Linked DNA regions of Homo sapiens: all the other regions are linked to region 3. Evidence: promoter capture Hi-C in 16 types of primary human blood cells and fetal thymus (Javierre and others, 2016). All regions are on one chromosome and are shown on one strand. The core of a region is centred on a gene start or on the middle of the fragment in contact, and the rest is flanking DNA. Distances in the headings are between cores, read along the strand shown. Region 1 holds the start of SDS (serine dehydratase). Region 2 overlaps DDX54 (DEAD-box helicase 54). Region 3 holds the start of OAS1 (2'-5'-oligoadenylate synthetase 1).

Evidence for each region. The method cuts DNA at HindIII sites, captures the fragments that hold promoters and counts their contacts. A CHiCAGO score of 5 or more calls a contact.
Region 1: a fragment that was not itself captured here is called in contact with the fragment with the promoter of OAS1 in region 3 in 1 of 17 cell types (naive B cells); the score reaches 5.7 in naive B cells.
Region 2: a fragment that was not itself captured here is called in contact with the fragment with the promoter of OAS1 in region 3 in 2 of 17 cell types (naive B cells and naive CD4 T cells); the score reaches 6.8 in naive B cells.

The regions. Positions count from the first base shown.
Region 1 is chr12:113,403,493-113,408,034 of GRCh38, forward strand. It overlaps SDS (serine dehydratase), which reads right to left and starts at 395. Exons shown (of 8, transcript NM_006843.3): 1 at 276-395. The HindIII fragment of the contact is 773 bases long and covers 1,798-2,570 here.
Region 2 is chr12:113,168,307-113,173,176 of GRCh38, forward strand. It overlaps DDX54 (DEAD-box helicase 54), which reads right to left. Exons shown (of 20, transcript NM_024072.4): 11 at 4,047-4,257; 12 at 1,464-1,598. Among named protein-coding and RNA genes, the nearest start is that of MIR7106, 12 kb to the left of the region's middle. The HindIII fragment of the contact is 648 bases long and covers 1,619-2,266 here.
Region 3 is chr12:112,904,942-112,909,476 of GRCh38, forward strand. It overlaps OAS1 (2'-5'-oligoadenylate synthetase 1), which reads left to right and starts at 2,021. Exons shown (of 6, transcript NM_016816.4): 1 at 2,021-2,278; 2 at 3,595-3,883. The coding sequence starts at 2,099. RefSeq lists an enhancer at 1,862-2,301. The HindIII fragment of the contact is 17,002 bases long and covers 1-4,535 here.

The DNA of each region.
Region 1 (4,542 bases), core at 934-3,433, 500 kb after region 3:
CAGCCTGGGTGACAGAGTGAGACCTCTGTCTTAAAAAAAAAAAATTTTTTTTGTAGAGATTGGGGGGGGTCTCACTCTGTTGCCCAGCTCAGTCTTGAACTTGTGGCCTCAAGCAACCCTCCCACCTCAGCCTTCCAAAGTGTTGGGATTACAGGCATCAGCCACCATGCCCAGCCTTGACAGACTCTTTCTATGTCTCCCTCTTCCCCTGGGAAACCACAGGCTAGCCCGGGACACTCCAGTCCTGAGGTGGGACTGAGGATGGGGCCACTTACCCGGCAAAGGTGATGGGTCTGAGCAGGAGTCAGAGCCAAGCCAGCGAGGGAGGGATCAACTGAGTAGATAGCCCACGAAGAGAGGGGGCTGAGGACGGGTGGACAGTCTTCTGAATGGTCCCAGGGGCTACTTGGTCCTGGGCTTTATTCCTCTGGCACCTCTGGGCAGCCAATGGGGCCCTGGGGCTGGCTACACCCCCCCCTCCCTCCTGCCAGGACCCACCCCCCTGGCTTGAGGCCACTGAGGCTGTCAGAAGGGAGGTGGAATCTGGCCAAGCTTTCTTCTTTGGCAGCTTCCTCCTGCCTTTCCCACAACCCACTCCTCCTCCCTCTTTCCACTTCCCCTTTCTGTCCTCAGTTTCGTGAAAGGAAAATAAAAAATTGGGACCCCCAACTCACTATGCCAAAAGAAAAAGAATTAAGCTAAAAGCTGAGTCATGTAAGAAACTGCCTTTCCTTTAGTTCCTAAGCAGATAGCTTCAGATGAAAGGTTAAATATTGGCTCCGCATTTTGGGAGGCCGAGGCGGGTGGATCACCTGAGGTCAGGAATTCGAAACCAGCCTGGCCAACATGGTGAAATCCCGTCTCTACTAAAAATACAAAAATCAGCCGGGTGTGGTGGCACGTGCCTGTAATCCTAGCTACTCAGGAGGCTGAGGCACAAGAATTGCTTGAACCTGGGAGGCAGAGGTTACAGTGAGACTAGATCTCGCCACTGCACTCCAGCCTTCACAACAGAAAGAAAAAAAAAAGTTAAATATCTCCACAGGTCGCTACTCTATGTTCACCTTATCTTATGTAAAGTGCCGATTTATTGAGATCAAGACAAATACATAATTGGCTACTTCCCTATCTGCCCCTCTTCTCTTACAAACTGTGGATTTGGTAATGTGGCCATAGCCTCCTTCTTTCCCCTCCAGCTTGCTTTTCTCCTTTAAATACTGACACCTAAAGTCATCTCTGGAGAAAAGCACAGACCTGTCTCCCAGGTGCATTCTTAACCCTGGCGAAATAAATTTCTAAATGGATTGAGTCCTGTCTCAATCTTTTTGATTCTTTTTGATTTACAGATTGGAGACTCATGAAAGGGACCCTGGGTGGAGGTGGCCCTGACCTTTGACAAGTCTCCTACTGGTGCTTGGTGGGTCTTGCTCTGTCACCCTGGCTGGAGTGCAATGGCATGATCTTGGCTCACTGCAACCTCCATCTCCTGGGTTCAAGCGATGCTCCTGTTTCAACCCCCCAAATAACTGGGAGTATAGGCATGTGCCACCACACTCAGCTAATTTTTTGTATTTTTAGTAGAGATGGGGTTTCACCATGTTAGCCAGGCTGGTCTTGAAGTCCTGACCTCAAGTGATCCACCCGCCTCAGTCTCCTAGAGTGCTGGGATTACAGGCGTGAGCCACCATGCCGGCCTTGAGCGATCTTGATTGCCCTCCAAAATAGGACAGTTTGCTGAGGCCTGGGAGCTCCCCACCTCCAGAGAACTCCTGATCTCCCACAATTGGTTGATATCTAAGCTTGATTTCCCTGAACAGCTCCTTTTCTGCGTTTTACTCACTTCCAACAAGGAAGGTGAGTTTTCTGGCTTCCATGATGATGGCAAGCAGGCAGCTCCTTTCTGGAGTTTCGCTTGTGTCCGGCAGGGAAGGCAAGTTTGAGATTTCCCCGCTTCTAGGATGGTAGAGAGCGGTCTTCAGCCTGGGCCCCATGACTAGAAGTTAGGGTTAACAACCAGCTGGTCTTAATTTCTCCCTACTTTTAGAGCGTGCAGTAATCGTATAAATTGCTTGATTGTTTGTTTCCCTTGCTTAACTGTTTTTGTTTCTGTTGTTGTTTTGTTGCTTCTGTCTTTTCCCCATTGGACTGGACCAACTCCATTTGACTTGGTCAAATCTGAAGGAAAGTTTCATATTATGGCGAACAAGGTCTCATGAATTGGCTAAATACCCACAGCTGGAAAAAAAAAAAAAGGAAAAAGAAAAAACAGCCAGCAAAAGAAAAAAGAGAGAGAGAGACAAGGATTTTGATTACCTGAGGGGCATTATTTACATAACAAGGCCATCTTTTGCTAGCCAAGCCAAACTGAAAGAGGCTACATGGCTGTCACCTCACGCTAGTTCAGTAGCTAAGATTCTGTTCCTTTTTCACCACCGTGGCCTGGGCTTGGTTCCTAAATCAAGTCCTTTCTGGTTTGATGTTTGTGTTACTTTTGAAATATTAGCAGTTTGTCCCAGCTAAAATATGGTGATGAGATTTAAAAGGATTTTTTAAAGAGCTCAATGGTTAAAAGCTTAATTAAAGGCGAATATCTAAGATGTGTGTGTGTGTGTGTGTGTGTGTGTATTTATTTATTTATTTATTCATAGGGCCTTAATGCATTTTTTTCTCTCTTAGGATCTGTTTTTTTTTTGAGATGGAGTCTTACTCTGTCGTCCAGGCTAGAGTGCAGTGGCATGATCTCAGCTCACTGCAACCTCCACTCCCTGGGTTCAAGTGGTTCTCCTGCCTCAGCCTCCCAAGTGGCTGGGATTACAGGCGCACACCACCACACTGGGCTATTGTTTTTGTATTTTTAGTAGAGACAGGATTTCACCATGTTGGCCAGGCGGGTCTTGAACTCCTGGCCTCAAGTTATTCACCGGCCTTAGGCTCCCACAGTGCTGGGATTACAGGTGAGAGCCGCCCCACTTGGCCAGGATCTTGTTTTTTGAGAAAAAGTTTTCTTTTTTCTTCTCAGTTGACTGATTTCTGTTTTTTCCAATTTACTTCTGCCTGTCTCCTTTCTCTTGCCACCCTCTACAGCTCAAGGAACCTAAAATAATTTCTAACAGCTTGGGACTCCCTTAAGGAAAACAGAGAAAGTGCCAGACTCCTTTTTGGGGAGAAACCTCTGTTTTTCCATAACCTTATGGAGCCCTAAGAATATAAACAGATAAGTTCCTCTCAGATCTTCAACTGCTTGCTTTTGTTGTGTGTTACCTGACTTCTTTTTTGACTAAAATCTTTATTACAACAGGGGCTACTCTTGAATGTTTAAAACAGGAGAGGGTCTGGATGTGTGGGCCTAGTTATATATAAAAAAATTTTTTTTAAAGATAAGAGAGAGTATGGTTTAGACCCTTAGAGAAATGTCTTTGCAACAAAGTACACTGTAAAAGCATCACACAGCCTAGGTCCACCATATCATTCTCTTTGGAGACCCGGGATTCAGTGTGGGCTCTGTCCAGAGCTCTGAGTTCCAGTTAAAAGATAGAAACTAAATGTAAAACTACCTATCTAAATAAAATATATTTATTTGATAGATTTCTATAACTTAATGTTTGATTTGATTTGCTTTTTTTTTTTTTTTTGAGACTCTGTTGCTCAGGCTGGAGTACAGTGGTGCGATCATGGCTCACTGCAGCCTTGACTTCCCAGGCTCAAACAATCCTCCCACCTCAGCCTCCCAAGCTGGTCTTGAACTCCTGAGATGGGAGGAGGTCGAGCCATCCTCCCATCTCAGCCTCCTAAAGTGTTGGGATTACAGGTGTCAGCCACCATGCCAGCTGTGGCATCCATTTTAAATCTCTCTAACACACCCAGACTCTCTTTTCTCTCTTTCTCTACTTTGAGATAAACATTTTGCTATCTGATTTTCATCTAAGAGTTGTTTATTTAGTATGTAAATTTAAGGCTATCTAGCTGGCAGTTGCCTAGGGTAATGAAACAGGTTATCCAGAAATTAGAGGTTGGGCTGGGCGTAGGGTGACTAGCACTAATTCCAGCATGTTGGGAGGCCTAGGTGGGAGGATGGCTTAAGCCCAGGAGTTTGACACCAGCTTGGGCAACATAGTGAGACCCCATCTCTACAAAAAATAAAAAATTAGCTGGGTATGGTGGCATGCAACTATAGTCCAAGCTACTTGGAAGGCTGAGGTGGGAGGATCACTTGAGCCTGAGTGGTTGAGGCTGCAGTGAGCCATGCCCACACCACTGCACTCCTGCCTGGGCAACAGAGTGAGACCCTGTCTCAGAAAAAAAAAAAAAAAAGAAAGAAACAAAGAAGAAAAGAAAAAGAAATTCAAAGTCTTAAATAGGAGGAAAAAAAAGGAAGTCTTATGAATTTATAAGATCTACCTCTGTCTGTGTCTAATACATGTATCTAATGTTACTACTAAAAATAGACAACAGAGCTCTAATGAAATGATTTAAAGAAAAAAGTACTTAAATCAGATACTTTATCAGAAAAATAGAGACTGTGAGCCCAAATGCTTTCTCAGG
Region 2 (4,870 bases), core at 693-3,192, 260 kb after region 3:
TCTGCTGACCACTGGCTAGGCTGTCCGGAGGAAGCCGCCTCAGCTCTCTGAGCTTGAGTCTTGGGCCTCTGGGGGGGCCTGAATCTCAGCTCCCCACCTCCCTGCTGTGTGCATGCGGGTAGGCCTGTCAGAGCCGTTCTCTCATCTGTGAAGCAGAGGTGATGACAGCCCTCCCTCTAGCACAGATGGACAAATGAGACAAGATGTGTCCAGGGCCCGGGAACCAGCAGGACTGCAGGTGGAGGCCCATAGTTGGAGGCCCACAGATGGAGGCCATGGTGATTGCTATTGTCTGTCCCATGCATTCCCATTCTAGGATGTATACAGAAATGTCCTGTGGGCGGCTGGGCACAGTGGCTCACGCCTGTAATTCCAGCACTTTGGGAGGCCGAGGCGGGCAGATCACCTGAGATCAGAAGTTCAAGACCAGCGTGGCCAACATGGTGAAACCCTGTCTCTACTAAAAATACAAAATTAGCTGGGCGTGGTTGTGTGTGCCTGCAGTCCCAGCTACTCGGGAGGCTGAGGCAGGAGAATCGCTTGAACCCAGGATGCGGAGGTTGTGGTGAGCCAAGATTGCACCACTGCACTCCAGCCTGGGCAACAAGAGCGAAACTCTGTCTCAATAAATAAATTAAAAATGTCCTGTGGGCTTGGTCTGAATGAGCCTCAGCCTCTCTTTCCCTCCGCTGCGCTCCCCTGAAAACTCATCAAGTATAGGGTCACACACTAGATGCCTGCAGGGGCTGGGCAGGCCACACTGACAGGAAGGGGAGGCAGGCAGGGGCTGCAGGGGACCAGGAAGCCTGTCTAATGGGGGTGCCACAGCTTAGCACCCAGATCCAACTGTTTCCCAGTAGATACCAGAAATCTGGATTGTTGTGGGAAATCCTGAGTTTAAAATAGAGGGATTAGCCAGGCATAGTGGCTTGCTTGAGCCCAGGAGTTGGAAGTTGCAGCGAGCCATGATCGCACCACTGCACTCCAGCCTGAGCAAGAGTAAGACCCCGTCTCGTTAAAAAATAGAAGGAATCAGCCGGGCGCAGTGACTCACACCTGTAATCCCAGCACTTTGGGAGGTGGGCGAATCACTTGAGGTCAGGAGTTCGAGATCAGCCTGGCCAACATGGTGAAACCTTGTCTCTACTAAAAATACAATAAAAAATTTGCCAGGCGTGGTGGCGGGCATCTATAGTCCCAGCTACTCGGGAGGCTGAGGCAAGAGAATGGCTTGAACCTGGGAGGCAGAGGTTGCTGTGAGCCAAGATCACACCACTGCACCCCAGCCTGGGCAACAGAGCGAGGCTCTGTCTCAAAAAATAAACAAAACAAATAAAATACAATAAAATAAATAAAAGGAATCATCTTCTGCTGGGGTCAAACCCAGCCCTACCTCCTCCCACAGCCAAAACAGGGCCCATGAACTCCACGGGGACCCCTATCCCCACCCAGCCTCCACTCACCTGAGGGCTCCTTGAGGGGTCGGGCGAGGGTGAGGGAGCGGCCCAGGAACAGGTGCAGATCCAGCAGGTAGGGGATTTCATCAGGGGCCACCAAGGAGTAGGCTGTGCCACTTCGGCCAGCCCGAGCCACACGGCCTGCAGCAAGGAGACGTTCAAGCTTAATTAAGCAAAGAAGGACCCGGACCCAGCATGAGTTCCACAGGCCAGACCCTGAGCAGGTGAGCCTGGCCAAGCCTCGAACCTCACACGGCTGCTGTCCCCACCTACGCACAGGGAAGTTTAATCCCGGTCCCTAGGTTGATCTGTGAGAGTGTGCCCAAGCTGACACAGTGCTCTGGGAGACTAGCAAAAATACAGCAAGGCCCTGCTCATGAGCATGATCAAAACTCTTCAGTGTCCCCACTTTTGAGAATTCCCCGCAAAGATGTAAAGATTCACACACAAGGAGGTTTAGTGTGGCCCTGACTAGGACAGCCCCAAGTTGGAAACTAAAGTCTCAAGGGTAGAGGACTAGATAAGTGAATTAGCTGATGGCCACACAGTGGGAATTAAACAGCTCAGGAAAAGAGTGGGCAAACTGCAGCCTACAGGGCCAGGCTGGTGGCTCACGCCTGTAATCACAGCACTTTGAGGGGCTGAGGTGGGAGAATCACTTGAGGCCAGGAGTTCGAGAACAGCCTGGGCAAAATAGCAAGACCCCATGTCTACAAAAAACGAAAATTAGCCAGATGTGATGGTGTGTGCCTGTAGCCCTAAGTACTTGGGAGGCTGAGCTGGGAGGATTGCTTGAATCTGGGAGTTCAAGCTTACAGTGAGCTATGATCATGCCACAGCACTAGAGCCCAAGCAACAGAGTGAGATCCCGGCCCCCTGCTTGTCTGTGTAAATAAAGATTTATTGGAACACAGCCACACTCATTTGTTTATATATTATCTATATAAATGAATAGGCAGCAGTCACACGACAGCAGCAGAGATGAACAGTTATGACAGAGACAGTATGGTCCACAAAGCCTAACGTTTCATGTCTAGCCCCTTACAGAAAAGATGTGCCAACCCATCACAGAATGACATTTCATAGTAAACGAAAAACATTCGTGATGTATGGTGATGTAAAAAGAAAAAAACAAAAAGCCAGTTATAAAAAAGAACACCCAATATGATTGCAATTTTGCATGAAGTACCTAAATCACTACATAGCATTATATTTTGGTTTGTCTCTGTATCTTGGGAAAACAAGGTGTTATGACATTTGGAGATTTCATTTGAGGTTGTCTGACCGGCACTGTTGGTCTTGTGAGGCACAAGAAATTCCCTTTGGGGGCGTCCTGGGGACCTCCCTAGGGACATGCAGAACCAGCTCTCCACACAGCAACAGAAACTAGGGGACAGCAGACAGCAACAAGGGGGAAGTGCACCCACCACATGACACTTATGAATTAAAAGAAGGCAAAGAAAGTAGAATAACAGTTACCAGGGGCTGCGGGAGGGGAATAAGGAGATTTTGTCTGACGGATAGAGCTTCAATTTTGCAAGATGGAAAAGTTCTGGGGCCAAGCATGGTGGCTCACGCCTGTAATCACAGCACTTTGGGAGGCTGAGGCAGATGCATCACTTGAGGTTAGGAGTTCAAGACCACCTTGGCCAACATGGTGAAACCCCTGTCTCTACTAAAAACACAAAAAATTAGCTGGGCCTGGTGGCGAGCACCTGTAATCCCAGCTACTCGGGAGGCTGATGCAAGAGAATAGCTAGAACCTGGGAGGTGAAGGTTGCAGTGAGCCGAGATCACACCCCTGCACTCCAGCCTGGGGTACAAAGCAAGACTCTCAAAAAAAAAAAAAAAAGTTTTGGGGACAGATGGTGGTGACAGTTGCACAATGGGAACAGACTCAATGCCACTCCACTGCACACTGGGAAATGGCAAAATGCTGAATTGCATGCTATGTCTACTTTACCACAACTTAAAATAGAAACATCAGAAGAATGGACACACACCAAAATGACGGCCATGTCATCAGAGAGCAATGGGGGACAGTGATCTCTGAAATGAGACCACAGCTGTTCCGTGACTTACGAAGGGCTGCGTCTCAATAAACCCAATAGCCGTCAAAAACACACGCACGGCACCTAACCCACTAAACATCGCAGCTCAGCCAGCCTGCCTTGAGCATGCTCCAAATACTTCCATTAGCCTACCCTTGGGCAAAATCATCCCACACATAGCCGATTTTAAAATAAAGTGTTGAGTATCTCATGTAACTTATTGAATACTGTACTGAAAGAAAAAAATAGAACAGCTGTATGGGTGCTATTGTAAAGTCAAAAAAACCATAAGCTGAATAATTGGGTTGTTTTTTTTTTTTGGTTTTTTTGAGACAAGATCTTGCTCCGTCACCCAGGCTGGATCGCAGTGGCACGATCGCGAGTTTGAGACCAGCTTAAGCAATATAGCGAGGCTCTGTCTCTAAAACAAGGCCCACAGCCACCCCATGTGCAGTGTCAAGAGTTAAGCCTTGTACCCTCGGCTTCTGCCAGGATCCGGCACCCCTGCCTGCCCCAGGGCCAGCCACGGGCTGCTTACCCACGCGGTGCAGGAAGAGTTTGCCCTTGGCGGGGAAGCTGTAGTTGATGACATTGTCCAGCAGCGGGATGTCCAGGCCTCGGGCGGCCAGGTCAGTCACAATGAGAGTGGAGCACTTGCCAAGCGTGAATTTGGCGAGATTGATCTTGCGGGCTGTCGGGTCTAGGGCACTGTAGATGTGGGCGCAGCTCACCCGCTGGGTCGTCAGCAGCTGCTCAGAGCAAAGATGGTAGCAAAGTGAGAAGGAGACTTGGAGGAGAAAGGAAAGGAAGCCAGACCATGGCGGGGGACGGGCACTGAGGTGCAGAGACAAGACCACGGGTTCTGGAGTCTGGCACCCTTGGTCTGAATCCCAGCTTGCTGGGTGATGCCAGTTTGGGGAGGAATGGAGCTTACAACACCTCCCACCTCTCTGCAGGGTTGTCTGAGGATCAGAGATGATGTGTGCAGAGGGCCCTCTCAGGGAAGCTGCAAATGCCACCTCAGTGCACAAGCCTTATCCGGATTCTGCTACAAACAAGCTGTGTGACCTTGGGCAAGTTACCAAACTTTTCTATGCCTCATTTTCCTCATCTGTACGAATAACTGCCCCTTCTTTGTGCCTTATTATGAGGATCACATGAGTCAGTATATACAGTGCTGAGAACAGAGTCTCAACATGGAACACTCATGAGAGTGCTAGCTGTTCTTTACAGATTACTATTTAAACTGGGCATGGTGGCTCACGCCTGTAATCCAGCATTTCGGGAAACCAAGGCTGGAAAATCACTTGAGACCAGAAACTCGAGACTAGCCTGGGTAACACAGCAAGACACCATCTCTAC
Region 3 (4,535 bases), core at 771-3,270:
TATGCAAAGCATGCCCTTTACTACAATGGAATTAAAAAAGAAACCCACAAAAGAAAGATAGCTGGAAAATTCCAAAATATATGGAGATTAAAGAACACACCTCTAAATAACACATGGGGCAAGGAAGAAGTCTCAAGAGAAATTTTAAAATATTTTGGGCCAGGCTCAGTGGCTTACGCCTATAATCCTAGCACTTTGGGAGGCTGAGGCAGATGGATCGCTTGAGCCCAGGAGTTCGAGACCAGACTGGGCCACATGCAGAAACCCCATCTCTACAAAAAATACAAAAATTAGCCAGGCATGGTGGCATGTACCTGTAGTCCCAGCTACTTGGGAGGCTGAGGTGGGAGGATCACCTGAGCCCAGGAGGTCAAGGCTGCAGTGAGCTAAGATTGTGCCACTGCACCCCAGCCTGGGCAACAGAGTGAGACCCTGTCTCAACAAAATAAATAAATATATTTTGAATTAAATTAAAATGAAAAAACAGCCTATCAAAAAGTGTGGGATGTAGTGAAAGTAGTGTTTAGAGGGAAAGTTATAGCATTGAATGCATATATTAGGAGAAGAAAGATCTAACTCAGAGAGGGATGAACAGGTGAGGCATAGGGGATTTTAAGGTAGTGAAACTCTTGCAGGGCAGGGGAGCCCCAAAACTGGGACACCGTCCGGGAAGGCTCTTGGCTTCGTCCAGGAAGGAATTCAAGGGTGAGCTAGAGGAGGAAGAAAAAGGTTTATTGAGGCAGCAGGGTTACAGTTCTGTGACTGTCCCTGCAGAGCAGGGCCACCCCATAGGCAGTGCCTGGAGAGCAGCAGCTCAGGGCACTTCTATAGTCACATTCATACCCACTTTTAAATACGTGCAAATTAAGGGCAGGTTATTCAGAAATTTCTAGAAGAAGGGTGGTAACTGGGTCATTGCCAGGGAATGAGTAAACTGTTCATGGTGCTGGTGCTCATGCCAGCCAGTCTTCAATCTGGCCCTGAGTCAAGCCCCACCTCCTATCTCAAAACTATTCTGCATGGTGCTGTAATGGTGGATACATGACATGTTATGTTTGGCAAAATCCATAGAACTGTAGGACACAAGAGTGAACCTTAATGTAAACCTTAATGTAAATGGACTTTTGTTAATTATGATGTATTAATATCAATTCATCAATTGTAACAAATGTATCACAGTACTGTTAATAATAGAGGAACTTATTGGCAGGAGAGAGAGCTTATGGAACTCTCTGCACATTCAGCTCAATATTTCTGTAAGCCTAAAACTGCTGTGAGAAATAAAATCCAACCTGGGCAACATAGCAAGACCTTGTCTCTACAAAAAATAAAAAATGAGCTGGGTGCAGTAACGCATGCCTGTAGTCCCAGGTATTCAGGAGGCTGGGGCAGGAGGATCCCTTGAACCCAGGAAGTTGAGGTTGCACGAGTCATGATCATGCCCCTGCACTCCAGCCTGGATAACAAAGCAAGATCCTGTCTCCAAAAAATAATAAAATAAAATAAAAATCTACTAATTGAAAGGGAAAAAAGCATAGTATAATACCATTCTTAACAAAAAGAAAAGAGACCTGTGTTTGTGTGTGTGTTAACATTTGAAAAAAATCTGGAAAGCTCTATATCAAAACGTTTATAGAGGCAATTTTGTAGTGTTAGAATCATAGATGATCTTTCCACTTCCTGGTTTTTCTGACTTTTTTTCTTTTTGCAGTGGGCATGTATTGCTGGAAAATACCACAGACAACTGTGAAAGGATTTCATCAACAACAAAAAAAAGATAAAGAAGGAAACACAAAATCTGTTAAATAAGATTTATGTTGGCTGGAGGTTAAAATGCATTTCCAGAGCAGAGTTCAGAGAAAGGCTGGGCTGCTTGTTGCTGGCTAAAGGACAAAGGGTAAGTTTCAGGAAGCAGAAGAGTGAGCAGATGAAATTCAGCACTGGGATCAGGGGAGTGTCTGATTTGCAAAAGGAAAGTGCAAAGACAGCTCCTCCCTTCTGAGGAAACGAAACCAACAGCAGTCCAAGCTCAGTCAGCAGAAGAGATAAAAGCAAACAGGTCTGGGAGGCAGTTCTGTTGCCACTCTCTCTCCTGTCAATGATGGATCTCAGAAATACCCCAGCCAAATCTCTGGACAAGTTCATTGAAGACTATCTCTTGCCAGACACGTGTTTCCGCATGCAAATCAACCATGCCATTGACATCATCTGTGGGTTCCTGAAGGAAAGGTGCTTCCGAGGTAGCTCCTACCCTGTGTGTGTGTCCAAGGTGGTAAAGGTGAGTCCAGGCCTGCCTGGCCAGGGGAGGGGTGGCTGAATGTGCAAGAGTTGAGATTGAGAATGAGAGAGAGAGAGAGAGAGAAGCAAAAACCTAGAACCCAGGGTGCAAATGTGAGTACAGAGAGCTGAGATCTTCTGGGATGGTGGTTTCTTATTTATCCACACAGCATGTTAAAATAGATTCTGGGGTGAAATCCTACATCCCTATTATTAACAAGTGACCCTCCCCCCTACTTCCCGCTGAAGTTTATGAACCACTGTCCTGGGCGATGCCCATTTCAGAAATAGGGAACTGAATCCCAGCTCTGGTAAACAGTTTGCTAATTCGTGGCCAGGCTAGGGGCTCACCATTTCTGCAGTGAAGAATCATATGTTTTGAAAGCAAATAGCACCTGCTGGCTGCAAGACCTTGAGCAAGTCACTTAACTACTCTGTGTTCCAATTTCCTCAGCCATAATCCCCAATACTGTTGCAGTCTTGCCAGTGCACCTTAATGTAGCAGCTTCTCACTGAATTAGTACCCAAGGTTCTTTGTCCTGCATCCAAGAAAATTAAGGAACATGGACACAAACGTGAGCTTGGAGCAAAAGTTCAGTAAGCAAAAGAAGAAAGCTGTCTCCACTGTGGAGAGGGAAGTCTGAGTGGATTGCCAGATTGCAGCTGAATGCAAAAAACTTTTATAAGAAACCACTCTCCTCCCTGTAACTGTTTGAGAAACTTTTTATCAGTAAAGCTGTGCAACTTCCCTTACCTTATGCAGCTGTGGGTATATCTCTAGGCAAGCATAAAGCGCTGCTTCTCTTGTATGTATAACTGTGGATTTGTTTTAGGTAAGTCCCACTCCCTGCGCCAGTTTCAGGCAGGCCGCTCCTCCAGGGCCCAGCCTTGACCATTTACCTAACTGATTTTTCCTCTACTTTCCCTCAATACCTCATAGGGCCGTGTAGATTAAGTAAAATAGTAAGTGTGAACCACCCAGCATAAGCTAGTCCTGGGCATCGTAAAGGACAATGGGAAAAGAACACAGATCCTGGAAGAAGGCCCCCAGGTTTGAATTGTATTTGCCACCTACTAGCTGGGTGATGGGGCTGATATATTATCTCACTGAGCATCCATTTTCCCATCTGTAAAATGGGAACTAATGATAATGGCATCCAAATCATAGCATCATTGTGAGCATTATAGGAGTTTAAGACATGCAATGCCTTCAGAACAGTGGCTAGTGCTCCATAATGTTAGTGATTGCTCCTGTCATTTTATTTAGGGAGGTTTGCCTCACTAAGCATCAATTATTATTTTTGTCGTCTTTTTCAGGGTGGCTCCTCAGGCAAGGGCACCACCCTCAGAGGCCGATCTGACGCTGACCTGGTTGTCTTCCTCAGTCCTCTCACCACTTTTCAGGATCAGTTAAATCGCCGGGGAGAGTTCATCCAGGAAATTAGGAGACAGCTGGAAGCCTGTCAAAGAGAGAGAGCATTTTCCGTGAAGTTTGAGGTCCAGGCTCCACGCTGGGGCAACCCCCGTGCGCTCAGCTTCGTACTGAGTTCGCTCCAGCTCGGGGAGGGGGTGGAGTTCGATGTGCTGCCTGCCTTTGATGCCCTGGGTGAGAGCTCCCAGCTTCTTTTTCTCCCTCTTCCCATTTCTGAGCAGAAATCTCCCACAGTTTGAGAGCTTTTTGCCCCAACAGGGCATCTCTCTAAAGCAGGGTGGGAGGAGATCTTAGGATCTGTCCCGGGGCAAGAATGAATACGGTCATGATCTATCACAGGAGAGACATTAAACAGCAAATTGGCATAATGTGGGGACAAAGACATTTCTTACAGAACATCTGCAAGGCTTACTGGTTCTGTTTAAGGCAAAATGTGTGAATTTTATCTTTCTAAAATCAGGCAGCAAAGATGTGGCTTAAAGTTCATGTTACTCTCATCTTTGTCCCAACATGAGATCTCATCAAACGTATGCAGCACGTTGGGAGATAGATATTTATAATTTGCAGGAACATTTGGACAGGAAGTGTAACCTCTCAGAGGCTCCCTTGCCACATCAGGAGAATTGGTAAAACCACACTACCTGTATCATATCATTATTTTAAGTGATAAATGATCATCTACATTCAGCTCTGATGAGTAATAGGTGTTCAAAAATAGGAACTTCCAGCCAAGTGTGGTGGCTCATGCTTGTAATTCCAACACTTTTGGAGGCTGAGGCAGGAGGGTCGCTTGAGCCCAGGAGTTCAAGACCAGCCTGGGCAGCAA